Regions from separate parts of the Homo sapiens genome. Here regions 1 and 3 are each linked to region 2. Evidence: promoter capture Hi-C in 16 types of primary human blood cells and fetal thymus (Javierre and others, 2016). All regions are on one chromosome and are shown on one strand. Each heading gives the region's core, a stretch centred on a gene start or on the middle of the fragment in contact. The rest is flanking DNA. Distances are from core to core; before and after follow the strand shown.

Region 1 (2,903 bases), core at 77-2,576, 200 kb before region 2:
GTGTGTGTGTGTGTGTGTGTGTGTGTGTAATGTTTCTATGTCAAAAGCAGACAAACCTAAATGTTTTATTGTTTAAGGAGACATACATATGTGATGGAACTGTAAATAAAATCAAGGGAATAATAGACAAACACATCAGTTACTCATGGTAGGGGAGGGCACGGGGGAATGAGAACAGGGACAGGCACACAGGGGCCTTAGAAACTACTGGTAGCATCTATTTCTTAAGTCAGATGCATATATGTATGTATGTGTGTCTTGTTTTTCTGAACCATTTCAAATTTAAAAACAACCATAACCGTGCTGTCCACATAAAACATGTATACATGTATACATGTACATATGCATATATGTACAGAGAGATAAATATGCACAATATTAATTGTTGAATTTGAGAGGTAGATGATATACAGTTGTTTATTATACTATTCTTTCAACCTTCCTGTATGTTTGAAGTTTTTTCTAAAAATAGTTGGAGAAACTAAATTTGAAGGCCTTTAGAAGGAACACGCCCTCTCTGGGTCAACATACTCCCCACCATTCCTTGTTACAACTCTCAGCCTGGTTCCCTCATCTCTATATCTCTGATCCCTAGAGACATTTGAGTTTGCAACCTCTGGCTCAGCTTGTAGGTCTTGACTCCTTCTAGGTCTCCCTGCCTCCTCTATGTAACAGGTCACAGCTTTGGGGCATAAAAGATGTTTTTCTCATTCCCAGAGGTTGAATAAACCATACACTAAGTTTAGTTTAGTTTTGAGAACATATTAAGGACAATAAAAGTTTATGTAATTCCCCACTACCCTGCAGTGAAGGGTATCCCTCTCTGCCCGCAGCCCCAGCAGCTACAGTAACTTTGGCAAGCATGCCATCTCTTAGAAGATAAAGACGAAGCCTTGGAAACATCAAGCCACACCAGCTACTTCTCCCAGAAGATAAGATGAAAAATTTTATGATTCTTTTTTTTTTTTTCAGATGGCGTTTCGCTCTTGTTGCCCAGGCTGGAGTGCAATGGCGTGATCTCAGCTCACTGCAACCTCCGCCTCCGGGTTCAAGTGATTCTCCTGCCTCAGCCTCCCGAGTAGCTGGAATTACAGGCGCCCACCACCATGTCCAGCTAATTTTTTGTATTTTTAGTAGAGATGGGGTTTCACCATGTTGGCCAGGCTGGTCTTGAACTCCTGACCTCAAGTAATCCACCTGCCTCGGCCTCCCAAAGTGCTAAGATTACAGGTGCGAGCCACCACGCCCAGCCCAGTTTTATGATCTTGATGTCCCTTGTAGTCTCTCTGACACCAAAGGTGAAAAGAGTGGGAAACTAAGATCTTCCAGAAACATCGAGGGGCCAATGGGGTTAACTACTTATGAAGGATATAATGTATGAGATGAATGGCTGTTACCCAGTGGGCACAGGCAGCCATTCCTGGACTTGAGAATGAATGAGAAAGAGTCCCTGGTGGGTGCCTAGGCCCCGGAGAGTTTGCAGCCAATAAACCATTGCCCTTCAGACTGATGGGTTCTCAGTCCCTCACAGTTCAGTCATGTTGGAGAAACGGAAGCAGCTTGCCAGATAGCATTTGCCTAGCCACATTCTGTGATATGAGAGATTCTTTGCACACCATGGTTTTCACTCCTGCAGCTATCACACTGCATTAAATCCTCGATCTTTGCTGCCCCTACCTTGGCTAGTTATACACACACACACACACACACACACACACACACACACACACACCCTACAGCATGAATTCATCCAATTGTTTTGCACAAAAACATGTTTAAAATGAAAAGGCAGAAAGCCAGAGGCAGGTAGGGTAACTTGGGTATAAGCTGAGGTTAGCCAGTGACACTGCATGACAGCTTGGCCCAGCATGTCAAAGCAGGTGTGACAATGGCAAGACTCCTGTCTGATTGTTCTAATCATCCAGACAGAGAGACCAAGATCACTTGCCCTTTTGATATCCACTAACCTTTGACCTAGGACTAGGCCTGGGTGGTTTCCACTGGCTTTGCCGCTTTTTGGAGTGGCCTTCCCTCTTGGTTTATTTTTGCCTTGACCTCCCTACTTGCTGACCTTCCAGATCTTAGAACATCAAGTTGTGTCTTGATACCTAGATCCTCATATGACCAAACATTGGCTTAGGAGAATGTTGACACCTCTTCATCCTCCGTGACCTATTTTAGCTATTTGCTGCCCACATCCTATTATGACAGAACTCACTTGAGAGTTTGAATCTGCTCTGATGAATGCTTACAGGCCAGGGACTGAAGATAAGGGAAAGAAGAATTCTATTACCAAAGCTGTAGCATCAAGAAGATACCTTCAGCTCTCAGAGAAGAAAGCGAAGACCAAGGCCAGATAACTAGCGGCTAACTTGTGATCCAGGGGCAAGACAGTACTTTACATGTGTAGTGCTCGAGAGGGAAATTCCAACTGGAAAAACCTGGATCAATAAAGGTAGGTAGGTAGGTAGGTAGATAGATAGATAGATACACAGATACATAGATACATAGATACATGGATACATAGATAGAAAAGAAGGACATTCATAAAACAATGAAAGTATGTCATTCGCCAAGGATTACGATTACTACAATTTCTTGATGTCACATTAAGAAAACAAAAACAAAAGGAAAGGATCATGTCCTTACTAACAACCAGTTCTCCACATTCCCAGGTTTTCTTTTAGCTATTACTTTTTTAAAAATATGTCATTCAGGAAGGGTGGCCAGGACCACCCAGATACCAAGAAAATCCCTGGATGCCCCAGACATTCTGGCCTAGGAAATTGTAAAACACTAATCATTAGTTCAGGTGAGCTGACTGAATTTTTCTCAAAAGGAAAACAAAACAATAGAAAAGCCTAGAAGCCAAGACACTGATGAAACAACAGATTTCTTACCTA
Region 2 (2,993 bases), core at 400-2,899:
CCACCAGAGCCCAAGCAAAAGAAATTGAGCAACAATCTGCCTAGAATGAAGCCTGCCATGGACTAGGTGACCTGCTGGTCCTCCCTGGCCTCCTGCCAGCAAGCAGCCCTGCTTCTCTTTGCATTTTAATGCCGAGGGAGCAAGGGAGCCTCTGCCATTGCCAACTAGAGCCTCTGGATACAATGGGAAGCCTGAGTGGGAGGGGGGCCAGCTCTTGGCATAAGAGAGCCAGTCTTCCTTCTCACTGTTTGAAATCCAGTGTGTGTTGGGGGAGGGGTAAGCAGGCTTATCCCCAGAGAAAACATCCTTTCCCACCAACACTGCACTAATAGCCCCCAGACCTCGAGTCACCACATCAGGCGTAATGTAGAGGGAGAGGTCAACCAAGCCAGCCCCTGGCCCCCATCCCACCCAGACCCCTGTGCTTTAGCACTAAGCAAACTATAGTGTGCTAGCCAGCCCTTCCCTGCTGATGCTGATGCTATAGTAACAGCATCTTTTCTATGTGTTCATCTTCCAAAAGCCTGTGACCCCAATATACTCTACACTCCTCAAAAGATTCTTGGAAAGAGACTCATATGCCTTAGGGACAAGGCAGCAGAAATGACACAAGTCCTGAATGAGCATCTCCTGTCTGGGGTGATGAGGGAAGGTGGGAGAACTGCTAGTGTCACCCAGGATCCACAAGGCCCATGGGGACCTCTGGTCCAGAAACGGCAACTTGCTATCCAGAGTTCAGGAAGTAGCTTGCAGCTTCTGTTGCCCAGGCTGGAGCACAGTAGCACAATCTCAACTCACTGCAGCCTCGACGTCCTGGGCTCAAGCAATCCTCCCACATCAGCCTCCCAAGTAGCTGGGACAAATGACCAAGGCTTGTCTTTGCTTTAAACCTGGCCTTGTGAGATGTCCCATGCAACTACCTAGTCTTTGGTAGGTGCACACCATCATGCCTGGCTAATTTTTGTATTTTTTGTAGAGACAGGGTTTCACCATGTTGGCCAGGCTGGTCTTGAACTCCTGACCTCAGGTGATCCACCCGCCTCGGCCTCCCAAAGTGTTGGGGTTACAGGTGTAAGACACCGCGCCAGGCTGCAGCTTCTTATACATGCACCTTGCTGAATTAGAAGTAGGAGCTCAATAGGGGAGGGAGCCTAATGAATCAAGGCTGTATTTCCAGGGAGCTTGAGACTTGATGTTAGGCTTACACACACGCACACACACACACACACACACGCCTTTCCAGTGGGCTGGCTGGGCCTCTTCTCCTCACTGCCAAGTTGCAAAGTTGTGTGGTCACCTCCCCCCCCCACACACACCAGCTTCCCGCCAGCCTGTGCCCTCAGCCCTCGCCTCCCTGAGCCAGGACAAAGCCCCGGCAGTGACTGGGAGGGGAACAGGAGGAGGGACAGAGGGATGGGAAAGCCTGCACAAAGGAATTCCTCACCCCAAGCCCCCTGACCGCCAGCGAGTAAAGAAGCAGATTTGCTCTCCCTCCCGCTTCCTCCCTCCCATCTTCCCACCCGGGCTGTGCCCAGGCCACAGAGCAGCTGCAGGCCTTGGGAGAGGACCCACACAGCCTCCTGTAGGTGGCAACAGTGCCACCTGTTTGACTCATAGGGCTGAACCGAGGACTGAAAAAGGGAGGAGGCAGACCACTCGGAGAGGAGCTGGGAAGCAGTGCAGAGAGGAGAGCGGAGCGGAGCTGCCGCTGAGCAAAGGTGTGAGGGTTCGGGAAGGCTGGGGGGCTACAGGTGGGAGCTGTGGAGCAGAGACCAGCTCCATCCCACTGGGATTGGGCCGGGGGATTGAATGGCACCCCTGTCAGCAACCCTACTTGGGGTTTTCAGGCTGCTCAGACCCTGATCCCATCCTACAGGCAGCTCCTGAAGGGAGGGGACTCTGGAAGGCAGTGTCTGGGGTGCAGGGGTAGGACCCCAGGGGAGGCAAGAGCTTAGAGCAGGCTATCAAACCAGCTCCAAGATGGGCAGAGGCAAGGGCTTCCCTTTGGGTTGGCTTTTTACCGGGAAGGGTCTCGTAGAGGGGAGGGGTTTCCTTCCCCCAGCTCCAGCTCCTCACCCCTACCCTAACCCTCCTTTCCCAAGGCAGCATAAAGAGGGCAGTTCAGAAGCAGCCACACCTTCCTGCTTACCGGACCCACCCACTGTGCACCCCTCTAAGACTCCATAGCCTCGGGAGAGCTCTGAGGACAAGAGGTCCTGTCCCTCAGCCCGCACGCACACATGCTCACACACTTTGGGTGTATCCAGGGGCTCCTTTACATACTCAAAGTCACCTAAAATCATATTGTACCGACAGCCAGTTGTGCTGTCGCGTGCAAATGCTGACACAAATCACATACCGTCTCGCGTAGAATCAGTCACGTACCCAGCCAAGTCTGGGGATCAGCTCAGTCAGCCAAACCCAGAAGCATAAGGTACAGGGGTCCCCTGCCCCAAGACAACCACACCCCGCATACACACCTTTGCCCTGCGTTTGTTGTACTTTCACCAAAGCTAACTTAGAGGGTGGGGCTCCTAAAGGCGAGTCTGGGCTTCTGGTTGGGGTTGGGGGATGACTGGGCAGGAAAGGGCAGGACTTGAGGGGAGGCTCTGTATTTTGAAAATCCAAAGATTCCTTTAGAAGACTGGGAGTGACCCAGGCAACATGTTCACCTCAAGTCTTTCTCTTTTTGGCAGTGCCCTTTGTCCCCTGAGAGGTGGACACAGAGAATCTTTCAGGGATTTGTGATCTGAATAATCTCTATAACCATAGCAACTGGCCAACTAGCTGGGCCTTCCTTAGCCCCAGGTCAGAACTGTAACCTTTGCTTCAGGTTACTCCTGCTTCCTGGGCTGGAAAGCAATTCAACATGGGGTTGCCTCCAGCTTGGCCAAACCTGCTTTAACTTGCTGAACTGAGTTTGTCCCACCCTGGGCAGTTTCTCTTGAGTTCTTACCCCCAGGGCAAGCACTCCATCCCCAGAGGTGTGTGCT
Region 3 (2,751 bases), core at 7-2,506, 160 kb before region 2:
CGACGAGCCATGAGTCCATAGCAAACAAGAGTGACCAGGCAGGGCACGCCAAAGAGCAGCCCCATGACCGCCGAGCTGAAGTGCACATAGTGGTCAAACTCTTCAGGCCGAGTGGTGTCATGGCACAGGACGGTGGTCCCTTTGTTGCTGGTTGTGACAAAGAACAGGTTGGGCACGAGGCAGCCGGCTACGACCAACCAAACTGCCAGGCAGAGAAGGCCTGCGAGGCGAGGGCGGCCCCAGCGTAGTGCCCGAAGTGGGTGGCAGATGCCCAGGTAGCGGTGCACGCTGATGCAGGTGAGGAAAAGGACACTGCAGTAGAGGTTCCAATAGAAAAGAAAGCGGACGAACTTGCAGATCTCAGTGCCAAAGGGCCAGTGGTTGTGGGCTGCATAATAGTAGATGAGGGTGGGCAGCGACAGCACATACAAGGTGTCTGACAATGCCAGGTGGAACATGTAGGTGGCCGTTGCATCCCAGGGTCGGAGGCGGAAGATGAAGAGCCATAGGGTTGGGGCGTTAAGGCCCAAGCCCAGCACAAAGACAACTGCATAGCTCACAGGCAGCAGGATGAACTTGAAATCCTCATCAAACCAACAGTCCAGCTCCACCTCACTGCTGCCAGGACCTGGGCTGAGGCCTAGGGATCTCAACAGGGAGGACTCTGTACTGGCCATGGCCCCCCTGGAGATGGGAAGGGGAGAAGTGAGGGTGGCAGGATTTCCCTGCCCACCCCCATCCCTGAGCTGGAGCAAAAAAAGTAGAGCAGGGAGAGCAGTGGTTGAAGCACTAGGGAGAGCTGACAGAAGCGCATCTGGGTGCACTCAGGCTAGCCTGGCCCCTACCCAAGCTCCCTTGGTCCAGCTTGGGAAGTGGTGGGCAGCAGGCAGTGCTGGGGCTCAGGCAGGCAGCCCGTGTATTTGGGTTGTACTCACTCTGCAGCTCACTCTGTCCCTAAGAGCCTGGCTGGCTGAAGAGGGTGGAGGCCTCCCAGCACTATCCAAAGTGGGAAGATACCCAGACCCAAAGTGTCTTCTGACTCGTCATCACAGCTATATCCCTGGAAGAGGAGTGTCTCTCCCCACAGTGCCTTCGCCTCTCCTAGTGCCCTGGTCACAGTGTCTCCAGATGACATTTACCTATGACACCTTCCCCACTGCCTGCCTACAGCCCAGGAGCCCCATTGCCACCCTTGCCCAAGAACGTTGGCACATCTCCTACCTGGTCCCCTTGAAGCTGAGCTCAGCTGACTCTGTCACCCTTCCCCTTGGCAGCCAGAGGGCATATCCAAGGAGGTGGAGTTGGAGGTGGGGCCTGTCCCTCCTCCCACCTGGGAGATTAAAAGAGTTAGAAAGGCCCTTTACGATGACCTAGTCCAACCCACTCATTGTACAGATTGGGAAACTGGGGCCCAGCGAGATTACTATTTAACAGCTTTGAAATGACTGCAGGAGGGAGAACACGAGGAAACATCCAAGTTTACTGATGAAGAGCCAGGTCCCTGGAGATAGATTACAGGGGGATCATACAAGCCTGTGTAAGTGAGCAGAAACATGGGAAACGAATTTTCACATGGGCAAGTGCAAGACAACACATTGAAAGATTTTAGAAAATCTAAACTACTGATATTTAATATAAATCTCATATGCATATAATTACAAAGAATGCTTATATAGCACTTACTATGTGACAGGCATTTTTCTAAGTGCTTTATACTTATTAATGACCCCATAGGCTCTCTATGAGCTAGATACTATTATTGTCTCTGCTTTGCTGATGAAAAAATGAAGGCACAGAAAGTTTAGGTGTCTTGCTAGTTAGTGGTAGAGTCAAGATTTGAACCAAGACAGGCCTGCCTTTGGATCAGGCTCTAGCATCCATAACTTAATTGCTATGCTTAAGTTGCCTCTCTAAGCCACTGGCTATGATCCAGGAAAGAATCAACAAATATTTATGGCAGACAGAGGCAGGCAGATCGCTGGAGCTCAGGAGTTCAAGACAAGCCTGGACAACGTGGCAAAACCCTGTCTCTACAAAAAATTAGTCGGGCGTGGTGGCATGCACCTGATGTCCCAGCTACATGGGGGGCTGAGGCAGGAGGAGTGCTTGAACCTGGGATGTTGAGGCTGCAGTGAGCTGTGATCGCGCCACTGCACTCCAATCTGGGTGACAAAGTGAGACCCTGTCTCAAATATAAATAATTTTTTTAAAACCACGAATATTTACTGAGAGCCTACTTTTGCCTGGTCCAGTTCTAGTTACTGGTAGTTCCTTAGGAGTGGACAAAATAGATAAAAACTCCCACCCTAATGGTGCTTACATACTACTGGGGGATAATAAAATTAATAAGTAAAATATGTAGATTGTGATCATCATTATGGAGAAAAATTAAAGAGGGAAGGAAAAGGGTAATAAAGAGGGAAGGAAAAGGGTAATAGAGAGGGTTGTTGTTTTAAATATTAGGAATGAAACCAGGCACAGTGGCTCACACCTGTAATCCCAGTGCTTTGGGAGTCGGAGATAGGAGGATCACTTGAGCCCAGCAGTTTGAGGTTGCAGTGAACTATGGTCAGACCTCTGCACTCCAGCCTGAATGACAAAGCAAGACCCTGTCTATAAGTAAATAAATAAATATTAAGGGTGACTTTTGAATAAAGGCCAGGTGTTGTGAGAAGGGGAAAAGTAAAAAATGAGGTCAGAGAGTTTGGCAGGGACCAGATCATGAAGGTCCTTGGAGGCCATTGTAAAGGA

What was found. Contacts are between HindIII fragments. The CHiCAGO score rates a contact against its expected background, and 5 or more counts as called.
Region 1: a fragment that was not itself captured here is called in contact with the fragment with the promoter of GDPD2 in region 2 in 4 of 17 cell types (naive CD8 T cells, naive CD4 T cells, total CD8 T cells and 1 more); the score reaches 7.2 in naive CD8 T cells.
Region 3: the fragment with the promoter of P2RY4 here is called in contact with the fragment with the promoter of GDPD2 in region 2 in 1 of 17 cell types (naive CD8 T cells); the score reaches 5.2 in naive CD8 T cells.

Annotation. Positions count from the first base shown.
Region 1 is chrX:70,226,585-70,229,487 of GRCh38, forward strand. No RefSeq gene overlaps it. Among named protein-coding and RNA genes, the nearest start is that of AWAT1, 6.6 kb to the right of the region's middle. The HindIII fragment of the contact is 4,506 bases long and covers 1-2,903 here.
Region 2 is chrX:70,421,665-70,424,657 of GRCh38, forward strand. GDPD2 (glycerophosphodiester phosphodiesterase domain containing 2) reads left to right here and starts at 1,650. Exons shown (of 16, transcript NM_017711.4): 1 at 1,650-1,718. RefSeq lists enhancers at 616-1,604, 1,605-2,593. The HindIII fragment of the contact is 11,609 bases long and covers 1-2,993 here.
Region 3 is chrX:70,258,948-70,261,698 of GRCh38, forward strand. It overlaps P2RY4 (pyrimidinergic receptor P2Y4), which reads right to left and starts at 1,257. Exons shown (of 1, transcript NM_002565.4): 1 at 1-1,257. The coding sequence starts at 677. The HindIII fragment of the contact is 18,804 bases long and covers 1-2,751 here.